2 separate regions of the Homo sapiens genome follow, and region 2 is linked to region 1. The links are contacts of gene promoters, found by promoter capture Hi-C in human tissues and cell types (Jung and others, 2019). All regions are on one chromosome and are shown on one strand. Each heading gives the region's core, a stretch centred on a gene start or on the middle of the fragment in contact. The rest is flanking DNA. Distances are from core to core; before and after follow the strand shown.

Region 1 (3,936 bases), core at 41-2,540:
CAACGCCGGGTGCGTGCCCTGGGGCGCTTGGGCGCGGCGCTCGTGTCCCCGCCCTCCCCCAGCCCTGCGAGCCCCCCGAGCTGCGCCGTGGGGTGACGGGACCGAGAGCAGTTCCTGTCCCCGGCCCCGGCGCGGGGGAGACGTGAGCGTGCACACGTACACACACAGCAGGGGAAGAGGCGCTCCAAGCGGCGCCCAACTTTCTCCTTCCCTCCACGGGCCGGGTGAGAAAGTAGCCGGGGGCTATCCCGACCCGGCGGTTCTTGGGGAGGGGGCCGAACAAGAAAAGGGAGGAGATGGAGATAACTTCCCCGGATTTAGCTTTTTTGTCTTTGTTTTTGTTCTCACCACTTCCATCGGATGACTGGAGAGTAAAAGGGAACCCGGAGCGGGGTGGCGAGCAGCGCTTTGAGAAAATGCAGGAGTGTGTTTGGAGACGCGTAAAGTTGCCTTTCAAGCTCTGGCCTCCGGGCACGCGATGCTCCGCGGCGGGCTGACTCAGGGCTGCCTTGGGCCTCCCTGCCACCCTCCTGGAAATGATGCAAGTCCTGACTGTCACCTGGATCCCTGCAGCCCAGCCTGGAATGCGTCTGGATTAGGGGAAAGACGAGAAACGACACTCCAGGTGTTGCACGGCCCACCAAAGCGGGAAGATAGGGCAGTTGCTCAGACCAAATACTGTATCTAGTGCTTCTGCTCCTATCTTCAATCGTGGGGTTCTTTTTAATGCAAAGTGTCACAAGGCCAGGAATTCCCATGTGTGCTCAGTTGGCCCACAGCATCATTGTGCCTAGGAAACTGCTTCAATTTATCAAGTCCTCTGGGCTGGGAATCTCACTGAATTCCAAACGGCGGAAAGAGGAAACTTTCCCAACCCGATGTGGGTGTGACGCGAGCCAGGGGCCCCAGGGACACTGTCCCAGAGCACACCGTCCCCCTTTAACAGCAACTGGAGCTTGGATTCGCTCTTATATTGTACAGTCCTTTCGACCATTGCCCTGGAGCACCCGCACACGCGCACGCATCTCCGGCCGCGCTCACACACACTCATACACACGCACGCAAACGCGTGGCCGCCGCCAGGTCGGCAACTTTGTCCGGCGCTCCCAGCGGCGCTCGGCTTCCTCCTGTAGTAGTTGAGCGCAGGCCCCGCCTCCCGGCCGTGTTGTCAAAAGGGCCGGGGTCTCGGATTGGTCCAGCCGCCGGGACAACACCTGCTCGACTCCTTCATTCAAGTGACACCAGAGCTTCCAGGGATATTTGAGGCACCATCCCTGCCATTGCCGGGCACTCGCGGCGCTGCTAACGGCCTGGTCACATGCTCTCCGGAGAGCTACGGGAGGGCGCTGGGTAACCTCTATCCGAGCCGCGGCCGCGAGGAGGAGGGAAAAGGCGAGCAAAAAGGAAGAGTGGGAGGAGGAGGGGAAGCGGCGAAGGAGGAAGAGGAGGAGGAGGAAGAGGGGAGCACAAAGGATCCAGGTCTCCCGACGGGAGGTTAATACCAAGAACCATGTGTGCCGAGCGGCTGGGCCAGTTCATGACCCTGGCTTTGGTGTTGGCCACCTTTGACCCGGCGCGGGGGACCGACGCCACCAACCCACCCGAGGGTCCCCAAGACAGGAGCTCCCAGCAGAAAGGCCGCCTGTCCCTGCAGAATACAGGTAAGTGCATGTGCCCCCGCAGCCGGGAGCTACTGGGAGAGGACACCGTGCACCCACGCGGCGCGCCCCAGGCGTTTCGCCGGGAGCCAGGCGCCCACCCAGGGCCACGCAAACTCTTGGGATGGCACGGGACGTGCAAAGGGAAGCGCGAGGCAAGGCGAGGTCCGCGCCGGGCTCCGAGGGCCCGGAATCTGCACGTGCTAGCAGGGTGATGAAATGGCTGGGGCAGGACTTGTTGCTGTCCTCCCCAGGGTCGAGGGGAAATGAAGCAGCGTCTGACGCTGCCAGCGCCAGCCCCCGCCCCCGAATCCCGGGTCCGGTGCAAAGCGCGCTTCATCCCGGCCGGCACGCGGGAGGCCCAGAGGGTCCCCGGAGCTGGGCTGCGCCCTGCGCCCGGAGAACTTCTCTTCCTGGCCTGCCGGCCTCAGTAAGGGTGCCGCGTCTTCCCCCTCCTCAAAAGATGCCCGACATCCCAGAACTTTGCCGGCGAGACAAATGGCATTGCGAACTTTCCCCCTGGGGGCACTGCTTTCGGAAGGGAGCGTGAGGGCAGCGCAAAGCGTACCTCCGCGGTGCTGCCGCCATCCCCAGCTCCTGGCCAGGTCAGCAAGCCAAGAAATGGTGACACGACCCGAACCGTGCGCCTCCTCTGCTCTACCGGCTCTTGGCTCACCGGCAAGCTGCAAAGCAGAGCCAGGCGTGCAGGGCACGGGGCTGGCCCTTTTCCCAGCTCGGAAAGAGAAAGAAAATCTGCCTACAGCTCCTTCGCTCCACGACCCCTCCCCCGACTTTGGGGGGCCGTGTGAACGCGGCAGCGGCGGCGTGCGTGCGCTCACCGCACGAGCTGGAATGCACGAGTGCCCATTAGGGACGCCCCAAGTGAGTGAATGGCGGCCCTGTGCGGTCCTGCCCCGGCGGCGCGTGGGGTCTTACGGATCCTGTCGCCTCCACATGCTGGGGCCGGCACCCCCACCACCCCGAGACCCTCGCCCACCCTCCCCCTCCTCTGGCGCTTCCTCTGAGAACTGAACCTGATTCTCGGTGGTCGGTGACCCTCAACAATACACGCCCCTCATTCTCTGGCTAGATTTAATCTGATGCGGGTTATCTGCTCCGACCCCGCCCTTCTTCCAAAATATACTTTTCTGATGTAATTTTGTGGTTGATTTAAATCAGAGACTTGGGTAGTGGAAAGGGAGGGAAGAGGCTTTGCACGCTGCAGCCTGACAGTTAACTCCCTCCGTCTGCCCCTTCCGAGAGAGGACTGGGGGCCACATTCGGTGAAGGGCTGCAAGCTTCCTCCCGGGCTGCGGGAATTCTAGGGGATTGGGTGATACCTCACCCGGATCCCTAATTAAAAGGAGCCTGCAACCTCTGATAGTGGCGTTTCTGAAGGCTCGCCCCCAGCTGACTCCACTCCTAAGCCTGCTCGCCAACCGCAGCTTCCCTAGCTGGTATTTTAATGCGAAGGGTTGGGAGGCACTGCCTTAATAGGAATTTTGTTTTGATTTTTAGGTGTTGAATCATAAAGCTGAATTGAAACTGCTTTTTAGATGCTGTCATTTGGGGGTCAGGAAGCAAATGGCTGTGATTTAATAGCAGCAACTTCTACAGATCAAGTAGAGAAGGGTACTTCATTGATGAAGTACAGTCTTCGACTCAAAATTTTATTTTTGTCTGTGGGTTTAAAAAGCGGAAATATATTTTGCTCTCAAACTAAGTATTCCCACAAATACTTTAATAAAATGGAAAGGATGAAAAGGAGGAATGCTCAGACCAGCCTTCTGGTTGTAATTTTTGTAATTTTTCGGCTCTTTTCTACAAATATTTACAAATAGAGATATTTTTCATGAGTAGATTAAAGGACGAAATTTTGTTTCCCAGGCTTTTTAGGTCCTGAAATAGTCATTACTAAGTCTTTTTTCCTCCTTAAATTTTCCTTTAGTTGTTAACTTTTATTTCAAATGACCTCTCTGCATTGCCCAGCATGGGTTAGAGTTTTGTATATATTTGTATGTGATTTTCCTTTTAGCGGAGATCCAGCACTGTTTGGTCAACGCTGGCGATGTGGGGTGTGGCGTGTTTGAATGTTTCGAGAACAACTCTTGTGAGATTCGGGGCTTACATGGGATTTGCATGACTTTTCTGCACAACGCTGGAAAATTTGATGCCCAGGTAAAAATCCATCCAGAGCATGAAGAATGTTTGGGGTGAGCATACATGATTGAAACGTTCATTGGAAAGCCTTGTTAACCAACTTCCTTTGCTGTTCCTT
Region 2 (4,425 bases), core at 1,801-4,300, 570 kb before region 1:
AAACTGAAGCTTATGTCTTGTAACCCTCGACATCTCTTCTGTGAGCCTTGACAGTGATCTCAAAAGGCAGCTTGTGCCCAGCCTCCACATTTCCAGACTCTCACAACACCCCCCGACCCCCATCCACAGTTCTCCAGAATCTCCTGGGCAGAAGGCACTCCTCAACACTCAAGCACAAAGAGGAGGTCACTGGCCAGTGCACTTCAGGAGCAGAAGTATCACGTTTGCCATAGCTAAGCATCCTCAGCCCATGGCCCTTCAAAAGCATCAAACATTTGTGCACTGAAAGCAAGCAAGAAATGTAAAAAGTTGATGCAGTCTAAAAGTCTGCAAGGGACCCCAAACCTCTACATTCCTCTTAAAAAACAGAAAAACAAAAAAGACAGCAACCATAAAAGCTCAGTCCTGTCCTGTTCTCTCACTCATCTTTCCTTTCAGAGGTCTTGCCCACAAGTCCACAGAAGTGTGAACCTAGAGAAAGGATAAGATGAAGGGAGGAAAACGGTATACTCTCCTCCCAAATTTCGAATCACTAGCTGGTATTTGGGTGCTTTAACTGGATCTCTTATTTTTCTATGTTACAGAAAGAGAAGATGAAGCCAACAGTGGTCCACCACTATTGGCACCAGGTTGAGCAGTGAAACAGACTGAGCAGGTACAACAGAAATGTGGGCCTTGCTTCAGTTTCTCACTACCCTTCTTTAAAAAAACAACTTGAAAAAAATTTTAATGTTTTCTCTTAAAGACTCCTCTAGAGACACATACTGAACCATTTACAGATGAAATAATATGATATGAAGCAATTGCTTCAAAATAATACAAATGGGGAGAGAGAGGATTAAGGGTATAGATGAAACAAGATTGTCCAGGAGCTGATAATTGTTGAAGCCAGGTGACACATACATGGGAGTTCACTAGACTATTCTGTCTACCATGGAATATATTTAAATTTTTCCATAATAAAAATTTAAGAAGACATGGGTCAGGGGGTGCTTTACCAAGAGAGAAAAAAAATATCACCAGTTGGTCACTTTCAGCAGTGTTCAAGAAAATCAGTGTGTCATCTAGCCTCAGTCCCACCATTATTTAAGTATAGTGACTTTAGGAATTGTATTTTATTTATTTAAAATTAAGTTCAGGCCAGGTGCGGTGGCTCACGCCTATAATCCCAGCACTTCCGGAGGCCAAAGCGAGCGGATCACCTGAGGTCAAGAGTTCGAGACCAGCCTGGCCAACATGGTGAACTAAAAGGTACAAAAATTAGATGGGCCTGGTGGCACATGCCTGTAGTCCCAGCTACTGGAGAGGCTGAGGCACGAGAATTGCTTAAACCCAGGAGGTGGTGGTTGCTGTGAACCAAGATCGCGCTACTGCACTCTAGTCTGGGCAACAGAATGAGACCTTGTCTCAAAAAATAAAATTAAGTTCAAATTATCACACACCAGTTACACACGGGTTTTCAGATTTTAAGAAATTGTGCTATATTTTGAATAAAACTTTGACTTAATATTTCTGTTTGATGAGTTGCTTTCTTAAAACAATAGAATCTTCTAGAAGCCAAATATTAGACATATTTCATTTTATCCTCAAAAATACCAGACAAAAGAAATGAGAAAATAAAGGACCCAGAAGGTGCTGTAGCTTGCCTAGGTCACATAGCTAATGAATGGCCGAGCCATATCTGGAACCCAGATCTGACTTCCATTAACTGAGATAGTTTTCTAATAACATTTTTTCAGAGTATGTGAATATTCTGAGTCACGTTCTTATATTTTTATTTTTTTAAGGTCTCATAGACAATAAAATGGCAGCAACTATTTTACTGACTAGTACCATGATCCTATTGACTAGATGCATTCCTCAAGAATACCTGGAAGAACTATTATTTAAATTGTTACATGGTATTTTAAAATAAATATAGATTTAAAATATATAATACTGAGGAACTAATTATAACTTAGTTTTGGTCTACTAAAAAATGATTAGAATATATCTGATAAATCTTTAGCAAATAGAAATTGCCCAACCAAAATAACCTACAATATAAAATGCGCTTGTACAGCTTAAAGCTTTGAACTTGAATAATTCCATTTGTAAACATGAATGAGCACCTATAGGTAGCTGATGGAGTTTTTCTTTGGCATGTAACAGGACCAGAATTCTGCTATCCAAGTTAAAGTTTGCCTTTTGTGGTACCATTTTGTCATAGAATGTAAATCAGCACATGTTATATATAAACATACGGTAACTTATACGAGTGTGTATTTATAATTGATAATTACACTTTCCAAATATTTTTCCAAAAACATTATAATTTTCTAAAAATTTAAAATTTCCAAATATAAGCATATATTTATAAACACATTAATGACTACGTTAATAAAAAAGTTTGGAAATGCCATTTATACAATTTTTTGTTATAGCTAAAATTGAATGTTAGTTTGCCTTAATGATTAAACAATTTATAGATTAAAATGAAACTATTGGGCTAGTTGATAATTTGTTTATAATATTTAAGAGAAAAAAATGCATGTTCAGTCTTACTCAAAGATTAGCACAGGTCAAAAATACATTACAAACCATGTTACTGATTCATTTTTTATGACAGTCCTGTGCTTAGTCCATAACATAGTAGGTGCTCCAATAAATGTGTGCTAAATACATTAAAATATTTTTTAAAAACTCTTGATTCCAGGATAAAAGCCAAACTATTCTCAATTCAAATCTATGGCACCCTTTCATATCTCTTACTGAAAAATCATAAATTCTCCATTAAAATGTAGTCTCCTTTAATGTATGCAAAAGCAATCACATGTTCTAAAGTTCTTAATAAAACAACTGTGGCCAAAATCTTTCAAAATCCTGAAAGAAACAGGCTGTCAATGCTAATGAAAGTTTAAGCTTATATTTAATTAGAAAACTTCTCTTCGAGAAAATTGATAATTCTGCTAAATATTTTATCTGTCTGGGGTTGCATCTATAGCTTATTCAATAAAGCATATATAGCAAGATAAGCATGACTAAAATATTTCACAGTAACACAAGCTATATTTGTAACTAATTTCATAACTTTATTCAATATAAGAAAGCCATATTTTAAATTTAAAAAGTTAATCAACCTAATATGGCCACATACATAAGGTGCCTCACATTACCCTTCACTGTTAGGTATTATCATATTTTAGAAAAAGTGTTTTGTATTTTTTCTAGAGATGGGGTCTGACCATGTTGCCCAGGCCTGGTCTCAAATTCCTGGGCTCAAGTGATCCGTCCACCTCGGCCTCCCAAAGTACTAGGATCACAGGTGTGACCCACCATGCCCGGCCAGTTATTATTTTCTTGATACGGTATTTTCTTCTGGAATTTAAAAGATTTACTCAAGGTCACACTGCTCATTAGAGTTTAGAGACAAAATTTTTAAAGCTTTATATATGCATTTTATTTATTTTTACAACAGCTTCATATAGTAAATAATTACATTCAAATTCAGAGTCAAACTTAAGTCTGAGTCCACAGCCTATGCTTCACTCTACATTTTTGGGCTCACAAAATAGCCTTTCTCAATAATTGTTCACTTTTCACCTTCAGAAACTGATTGAAAATAGTATCAACAACTTTATCTTTCTATCTACTAAGTATTTTTTGAAAACTTAAAGGTGGAACTCATTCTGTTTCAATAAGATAAAATGCGGTGAGAAAAAATGGATGGGAATCTCCAATAAATTTGAATTTTAAAAAATATATTGCTCTAAATTTATCATGGTAAAACATACTTTTAATTTCTGCAAGGCAACTTTGAACAATTAAACATAAAATAAAATGAATTTTGTCACAAAAAGTTAAAATGCTCACATTATAGGCTCTCTGCCTTAAAGAGAAGCACATTATTCACATTATCTTATGTGAGATGAGACCAAAAACTGAGGTACAATACAGCGCTGAAAAAATATGACAGCGAATTATCAAGCTTATTTTCCTCCTAGCAAAATAGAGAAAGTCATAAGGAAAATAAACTGAAACTGTCAAATTCAAACCTAGGCATATGTTAATTTAAAAACTAGGTTCCCCATTTCTTTCTTATGAACACCAACAACGATGACTTTCAAAAACTTAAACTCATGAGCTAAGTAGCATCTTTCTAGTTGCAACCAGCAACAACCACATTTATTAGGCTTGCGATAAACAGGTTTTTCCTGAAAGGTGTTGGAACAATGTGCTGATCATATTCCATGGCTTCTCTGAAGATGGCTTCTCTGAAGATAGAAAAAGAAAAAGAAAAAAACTCTACCCTGGAATTAGTTTTAATTTCATCAGAAAAGCTATCTAACCTAGTTAAAAAGCCTTCTACAAAGAGGAAGATTTTTCCAATATGTCAGTTCTGCTAGATCTAGAACCATCCGACCCACAATTTACAGTTGAAAAAAC

What was found. The method cuts DNA at HindIII sites, captures the fragments that hold promoters and counts their contacts. A contact is called where the count stands out against the background at its distance.
Region 2: a contact is called between a fragment that was not itself captured here and the fragment with the promoter of STC2 in region 1, in 1 of the 25 tissues and cell types used here (dorsolateral prefrontal cortex).

What each region holds. Positions count from the first base shown.
Region 1 is chr5:173,325,768-173,329,703 of GRCh38, reverse strand. It overlaps STC2 (stanniocalcin 2), which reads left to right and starts at 1,290. Exons shown (of 4, transcript NM_003714.3): 1 at 1,290-1,661; 2 at 3,694-3,836. The coding sequence starts at 1,511. It overlaps LOC124901137 (a long non-coding RNA gene), which reads right to left and starts at 1,105. Exons shown (of 2, transcript XR_007059056.1): 1 at 1-1,105. RefSeq lists a silencer at 1-96. The HindIII fragment of the contact is 8,569 bases long and covers 1-3,936 here.
Region 2 is chr5:173,895,679-173,900,103 of GRCh38, reverse strand. All of the region lies in intron 1 of CPEB4 (cytoplasmic polyadenylation element binding protein 4), which reads right to left. Among named protein-coding and RNA genes, the nearest start is that of CPEB4, 9.5 kb to the right of the region's middle. The HindIII fragment of the contact is 4,022 bases long and covers 1,040-4,425 here.